Linked DNA regions of Homo sapiens: region 2 is linked to region 1. The links are contacts of gene promoters, found by promoter capture Hi-C in human tissues and cell types (Jung and others, 2019). All regions are on one chromosome and are shown on one strand. The core of a region is centred on a gene start or on the middle of the fragment in contact, and the rest is flanking DNA. Distances in the headings are between cores, read along the strand shown. Region 1 holds the start of GPR15 (G protein-coupled receptor 15). Region 2 overlaps DCBLD2 (discoidin, CUB and LCCL domain containing 2).

Evidence for each region. The method cuts DNA at HindIII sites, captures the fragments that hold promoters and counts their contacts. A contact is called where the count stands out against the background at its distance.
Region 2: a fragment that was not itself captured here is called in contact with the fragment with the promoter of GPR15 in region 1 in 1 of the 25 tissues and cell types used here (lymphoblastoid cells).

The regions. Positions count from the first base shown.
Region 1 is chr3:98,529,935-98,533,874 of GRCh38, forward strand. It overlaps GPR15 (G protein-coupled receptor 15), which reads left to right and starts at 2,044. Exons shown (of 1, transcript NM_005290.4): 1 at 2,044-3,940. The coding sequence starts at 2,100. The coding sequence ends at 3,182. RefSeq lists a silencer at 1,905-2,064. The HindIII fragment of the contact is 5,385 bases long and covers 1-2,864 here.
Region 2 is chr3:98,805,269-98,809,294 of GRCh38, forward strand. DCBLD2 (discoidin, CUB and LCCL domain containing 2) reads right to left here. Exons shown (of 16, transcript NM_080927.4): 13 at 2,813-2,906. Among named protein-coding and RNA genes, the nearest start is that of ST3GAL6, 44 kb to the left of the region's middle. The HindIII fragment of the contact is 3,643 bases long and covers 1-3,080 here.

The sequences.
Region 1 (3,940 bases), core at 794-3,293:
AAATTAAATGAATTGCGCACAGCAGCCAGGGACACAGGAGAAGGCAGGCTCAGGCCCACAAATCAACTCCAGAGTGACTTCTGGGACTGTCCCAGGTCAGAGGAGCCTTTATCCTTCCCTGACCTCAGCTTACTTGCCTAAGACTCAGGTGACACTAGACCATATCAGGAGGAAGAGGGAAGGAGGAAGTACAACCGGCAGGATGATTCTTTTTAATATACTAATTACTGAAGAAATAACAATTCAGTAGGGCCAGGCTTGGTGGCCCATGCCTGTAATCCCAGCATTCTGGGAAGCCAAGGCGGATAGATTGCTCGAGCTCAGGGGTTCCTGACCAGCCTGGGCAACATGGCGAAAACCCGTCTCTACAAAGAATACAAAAATTAGTCGGGCATGGTGGTGCATGCCTGTAGTCTTAGCTAGTCAGGAGGCTGGGGTGGGAGGATTGCATGGGCCTGGCAGTGAGCTGTGTTCAAGACACTGCACTCCAGCCTGGGTGACAAAGTGAGACCCTAGTGAGACCCTGTCTCAAAAATTAAACAAACAAACAAATGAAAAAACAACTTAAGAAAGGACTTCAAATGTTTAATGACTATATTTTCATCTACAAACATACATTTTTCTATGAATAGCAATATCAACCTGAAACTAGAATTCTGAAGATTAAATCAGATAGGAGAGAAGAATAGTGCAAGAGAGCCTTGAGTCACTTTGACCAGTAAAGAGCTGAAATAAATGGAGTCCGTTTCAAAATGTGTTATATTTTACTATGGTCATCATAATATAAAAGGAAACATATGAGAGAAAAATGTGATAGAATTCTTTCTGTTTTAGCCTGTTCCCCAAGTGTTTTAAATGTACTAAAAAATCTTCCCTTTTATAGTGTCCATGCTGGCACCTCCATCATGATGTCACTTATAGGTATATCTGTTGCCAGATCAGCAATCAGCAATTCCAAAAGTGATGTTCACCCATGTGTGGAGGTACCAGAAGGCCATGGCTCAGAAGCTAAAAAAATCAGTGCTACACAGGTGTGGTATAATGAAGAGAAGATCAGAGGGGATCCAGAGTCTGATGAAGCGTATTTGAGGGTTAATAGGGAGAAAATCTCCTAATCAATGATGTTAACTCTTAACAAAAGAGAACTTCACTGGTTGAATTACAATAGCAGATAGGAGGGTAAAAATAGCAACTTGAGATTGTTAAACCTGTGTTTGTAAGTTACATAAATAACAACAATACCTGAAGTTAGACCCCAATGAATTCATTTCTACTAGATATGCTGGATAACAAAAAGAATTTTCTGAATCAAACCTAATAAACTACAATTTCCAAAGCACCAACTATATGCAAGATGCTATGCAAGTTGTAGTGGAAAACTTAAAATAATAAGAGCAGAAAACGTGGTCCCAGTCTTTGGGGGGGGATTTTTAAAAACTTATGAAACAGGATTGACTACATGTCAAATGAAAGAGCCACATAGATGGGGAGACTCTCATGCCCTAAATGGAATCATGTTGTTTGACCTAGTTGTATACTGGTATGATTTGGGAAACTTTTCATTCACTCTTTACACAATGAAAGACTAGTTTTCTTCCTAGTTCGCCAACAAAGTAAATAAAAAGAATACATTATCATTGCCTTACAATTCTAAAAGCAGAACAATATCTTCTATGTGAAACAGAAGGCTAGATCAAAATAAATTTCAGTGTCAAAAGCAAAGGAGGTCTTTAAAGGAAGTGAAAAAATCAAGTTAATTCACTTCTTAATTACTGGCCTTAAAGAAATAAATTGAATATCTTGAAAAAATAACTCAAAAAGCACCTCAGTTTCACGAGCAAATGCAAATTAAAAAAACCACAACCACAACCAACCAACACCAATCAGAGTGGTGCTCCTTGTGTGCCCTTTCTGAGGATTGGTAGAAACTGCATTTTTTAATCTCGGCTTTCATGTTTGTCCAAGATCTTTAAAGGGAGGGGAAAAAAGAGAGAGAGAGGCAGGCACTGTATAAAAGAAGCTTCCTTGAGGTTTCTAAAATTTATACAAAAACATCATATGTAAGTAAACTCACCAGATTTGGCATCTGCTCTTTGGTGATGGACCCAGAAGAAACTTCAGTTTATTTGGATTATTACTATGCTACGAGCCCAAACTCTGACATCAGGGAGACCCACTCCCATGTTCCTTACACCTCTGTCTTCCTTCCAGTCTTTTACACAGCTGTGTTCCTGACTGGAGTGCTGGGGAACCTTGTTCTCATGGGAGCGTTGCATTTCAAACCCGGCAGCCGAAGACTGATCGACATCTTTATCATCAATCTGGCTGCCTCTGACTTCATTTTTCTTGTCACATTGCCTCTCTGGGTGGATAAAGAAGCATCTCTAGGACTGTGGAGGACGGGCTCCTTCCTGTGCAAAGGGAGCTCCTACATGATCTCCGTCAATATGCACTGCAGTGTCCTCCTGCTCACTTGCATGAGTGTTGACCGCTACCTGGCCATTGTGTGGCCAGTCGTATCCAGGAAATTCAGAAGGACAGACTGTGCATATGTAGTCTGTGCCAGCATCTGGTTTATCTCCTGCCTGCTGGGGTTGCCTACTCTTCTGTCCAGGGAGCTCACGCTGATTGATGATAAGCCATACTGTGCAGAGAAAAAGGCAACTCCAATTAAACTCATATGGTCCCTGGTGGCCTTAATTTTCACCTTTTTTGTCCCTTTGTTGAGCATTGTGACCTGCTACTGTTGCATTGCAAGGAAGCTGTGTGCCCATTACCAGCAATCAGGAAAGCACAACAAAAAGCTGAAGAAATCTATAAAGATCATCTTTATTGTCGTGGCAGCCTTTCTTGTCTCCTGGCTGCCCTTCAATACTTTCAAGTTCCTGGCCATTGTCTCTGGGTTGCGGCAAGAACACTATTTACCCTCAGCTATTCTTCAGCTTGGTATGGAGGTGAGTGGACCCTTGGCATTTGCCAACAGCTGTGTCAACCCTTTCATTTACTATATCTTCGACAGCTACATCCGCCGGGCCATTGTCCACTGCTTGTGCCCTTGCCTGAAAAACTATGACTTTGGGAGTAGCACTGAGACATCAGATAGTCACCTCACTAAGGCTCTCTCCACCTTCATTCATGCAGAAGATTTTGCCAGGAGGAGGAAGAGGTCTGTGTCACTCTAAAGGGAACTGTGACATTTCAAGCTCTGTTGGTGGGTTTAGGAGTTAATTTTTGTCAGCAACAAAGAAGGAAGTGTTAATGATAGGATTCACATTGCTTCATAGATGCAAGGAAGAGTTCATTTTTAAAGAGAGGACTGAAAAATCCCTGTGTTGTGGATATAATTAGGCCATGTGCTGTTTTCTCAGCTAAGCAGCCTTCTTCGACCCTTGCCAATCAAGTCCACCAGACAAAATCCAATTCCCATCTGTCCTTGAACTCCTGGATAAAGGCTCCTGCTTGAACCAGTCCCTTTCTTCATGATTGTTAATGCACATTTGGGCCTTTCCTCTCTCAAAAACCATGGTACCTTCATCCCCACCACCCTTCATACTGGGCTCTAAATTGGACTACATTTAAATGATTCTGCCTACTTTCATCTGATGAGAAATGCAGTAACAATGCAGGTAACAAAAATATAATATACCTGCACTGTGCAATTAATTGTTTCTGAGTTACTAAGCTAGATTCTGACCTCAATCTTTAAAGCTTTGTATCGTGATTCTTCATCATCTTCCAACATTGTGCTTCATCCTATGCCTATTCACAATGGCTTTGGACTGGCAAAAAAAAACTCATGGGGATTTTGTATTGTGTTTATGATTTGGGACTTACTTTATCATATGGTCTTCTAGTATTTTAATACATAAGCATATGGCAGGATTCAACATCTATTTGCTTTATAAGATATTGATAAAAATGTATCTCATTCATAATGGTG
Region 2 (4,026 bases), core at 9-2,508, 270 kb after region 1:
TGTTAATGAAACACTTGAATGGAAAAGAAATAAAAAAAAATACTGATTAAACACCTTTCTCCCTGAAAATGCTCTAATCATCACATGATTTAGAAATAAAAAAATAAATAAATCATCTTTTCTAAATAGAAGTTAGATGCCCTATATTGCTAGGACAACAAATTTATGGCATCAATATTAGCCATAGGTTGTACTATAAAGGATTTTATACACATAAGTGACAAAGCTTCTGGTTACTTATTCATTACGTATAAAGTGCTTAGAATGAGCTCTGGATTCAATAAGCTGCAGCTGTTTTTATTATCATTCTCATCCTCCCTATTTTCCACAGCATATTAATGGTATCTGCTCCTTTACTCCTTGTCATAAAGCCACACTCATCAGTGATTTCAACTACGTTCCTAACAGTAACTTCAATTCTCCAGCTCAGATCGTGTCCTTAACGCCAGGTGTGTGGTCGAATTGCCTCAGGAGTCTGGATGTCCACAGGGTCCTTTCAACACCATCCCAAACTGACCTCAGGCTCTGTCTGACTTCTGCCCTCTCAACAGCGGCACTCCTCAGTCCTCCCCCTCACACCCTGTGCTTTAATAACAGTGAGTTATACTTTATTTATTATGTGTTCAGAGCAGCAGTGGGTAAGAGCACGATCTCTCAAGTCTGGTCCAAAACTCCCCTCTGCCCATGTACTAGGCAATAACTAGGCAGGTTATTTATGCCCATAAACTAGGCAAGTTATTTGCCCATAACTAGGCAAGTTATTTATGTTGTGTCTCATTTTCTCCTTCTGTAAAACGGGGCTTATTATAGTGCCTGCTTCGTAGATTGTTTTGAGGATTAAATTAATTAATTCAGGTATTTAGAATAATTTGCGTAGAGGTGCATGTTGTCAAGACTGGGCATGTGGTGGTAACTGCAGAAGCTTTTGCAGATACACAAAAGCTTGTTACACTATGCATTCCATCTGTGTAGAGATGTGAAACTTTCCTAAATTTTTAAATCACTAAAATAAAATTGAAAATAGAAAATACAGGTATTTGGAATAATTATGTAGAATAGTGACTAAGATTAGCATTCAATTTTCTATAAAAATTAGCTTCTGCTGCTGCGGGCCTCATCACTACTATCACTGTTGTTGCTAAGTTCCTTAAATGCATCATACTCTCTCCTCTTTGGAATTTCCTAAAGTCCTTTCCTTTCCCTATTGTTCTCATACTAATTTGCTGTGTCTCTGCTTAGACAGCCTGTTCATGAAGCTGGGATCCACTAGCTTCCTCCCATGGCATATATTCTATGGCTGGTGTTACAGCTGGGAGTTTTTTTTGCATTGCATCCGTTCCTAATCTGTAAGCTTTGGGGTTCATCACTGGAATCCCCAGCACATGGCTCAATACTTGACATAGGGTAACAGCCAAATATTCAAATACTTGTTGCATGGCTGAACAAATGAAGTCATTTTCATTCTCCACCAAACCTGTCCTTCCTGCTGTGTTATCTCAACTCATGACACCTCTACTGGTCTAACTGCACAAGCCAGAAACCTCAGATTCCTCCTGTATCACTTCTTCCTTACTAGACAACTAGTCATACATCCTGTCAATGCTACTGGGAAACATCTCCACTCCATCTCTTCTCCCTTTCCTAGAATCAGTGTGTTATGTGCCTGCCTGGCCTCAGTGGTTTCCTAACTCATCTTGCTAAGTCTCTCAGCCTCTCTCCTCTTCAATCTACCCTTCAAAACTGCCACCATCTTTGTACAATCATCTGACAATATCACCTCTTTGCTTGACACTCAAGTGACTTTCCATCTATAGAATGAAATCTAAATTTCTCTCTTCCAGAAAAGCCTTTCCTGATCCAGGCCCAGACTGAACCTCTATGGTTATTTCTCAGGACTCTCCCACGCCAAGCGTACATGCGATGACTCACTATTTTGCCTACATTCCATATCTCTGTGCCTTCACTCAAACAATTGGCTCAGGTTGGGCCATTTGCTAGTGCTATGGTCTGAATATTTGCATCTCTCCAAAATTCATATGTTGAAATCCTAACCCCCGTTAGAAAGTGGGGCTTTGGTAAGTGATTAGGTCATGAAGGCAGAGTCCTCATGAATGGGATTGGTGCCCTTACAGGAAAGGCCTGAGAGAGCGTGTTTATCCCTTCCACCATGAGAGGATCGGGCAAGAAGGCACTGTTGATGAATGAGCCAGACGGCAGGCCCTCACTAGTCATAGTATCTGCAGTGTTTTGATCTTGGACTTCTCAGCCTCCAGAACTGTGAGAAATCAATTCTATTATTTATGTCACCCAGGTTATGGTATTTTCTTACAGCATCCCAAACAAAGACATCTACCTTCCTCTATCTAGCCAACTACAATTCCTTTAAGGCAAAGCAAGCCAAACTTGAGGAGTCCCCTTTCCCGAAGAAAAAACTTCAGTTAATTCTCATGGTTCATAACTCATCAAACCACATGATATAGTTCCTTGTTAGTCAACCCTGCTAAACACTTCAGAGAAAGGAATTGTGTCTCATTCTTTAAGTAAATGTAACTATCATGTGTCAGAAATTGTTCATATTAATGTACATATCCCAGTGTATAATGCAGAACTTGATACAAAAAAGGTACTTAGTAACTGATTGTGGAATTGAACTTATTTATTTTTAATGGGAATAAAGGAGAAGCATGAAATTTTCATTTTAATAATTACCTTAACTCTCACTCTCAAACAGGTAAACATTTTCATCTTCTATATTTAGCTTCTACTTCACATTTGGTAGTTTTGGACTCAGGTGAACTAGTTATGTACTAACCTGTTTCTCCAGTGCCAAGCACACACTAATATGAGAATGAGAGTAGTGAGGACCATGACCAGCACAGGGACAAGAACTGCAGCCAGCGCTACATCTGAAGTTACAAAGACAAAAACAGACAAACAAAAGCCATATTAACACCAAAGGCAGAAATCACTAGGGAAAATTAACCACATCATCTTTCAACATTTTTCTACCTCACGGAAATACCATAAACATTATTTGTCAAGACTGGGCATGTGGTGGTAACTGTAGAAGCTTTTGCAGATACACAAAAGCTTGTTACACTATTCATTCCATCTGTGTAGAGATGTGAAATTTTCCTAAATTTTTAAATCACTAAAATAAAATTGAAAGACAAATGAAAAATTGGGAAAATATATTTTCTACATATGAGAAGAGTTACTTTAAATAATTATTATATTGTAGGGCATTACAAGCCAAATCCAAACATTTAAGAGAAAAATCAGCAGAGATTAACTAGTAATACATTAAAAAATACAAGTAACCATTAAATATGTTAACTTCACTAGTAATCAAAGAAATACAAGTTAAACAACCAACACAAAAAAAGTTAAAACAACAAAATACTACTTTTGCTAATCAAAGTGGCAAATATTTAAAACAACAACTAATTGATGAACAGGCTACCAGGAAACAGTTATTTTTTAATGGAAATATAAACTGATGCTATCTCACTGATTGGCATTTTTGGGCAATATGTACAAAAATCTATTGGCAATTCCATTCCTAGAATTTATTCTCAGAAACTAAAAAAAGATGCATCCTTAAAGATGTTCTCCCTGTTTCTGCGTAAGAGTGAAAAATTGGAAATAATCCAAATGCCCAAAAATGAGAGGGAATAAATCATGGTATCCTCCTTACAAGAGAAAATAATCCAGCAATTGAAATGACGTTACATCATAATGGCAAAACATTCATATATATATATATGGGAAGGTAACAATGTGGTGTTAAGAAAGTCAATTGGAAATGTGTGTGTGACCAGGTCAGAAGCCAGCATAATGCTGGAACTGGGAGAGATTTAGGGATCATTTAATCCCCTAATTTCACTCCAGAGATAAGGAATTCTGGGCCCAGATATAGAAAATGATCTGCCTAAGGTCACTTGGGATATTAGTTTCTTCCTTTGTCGCTCAACCCCCTACTTGCCATGAAGATGATAATAGCAGCACCTGCTGATATTTACTGGG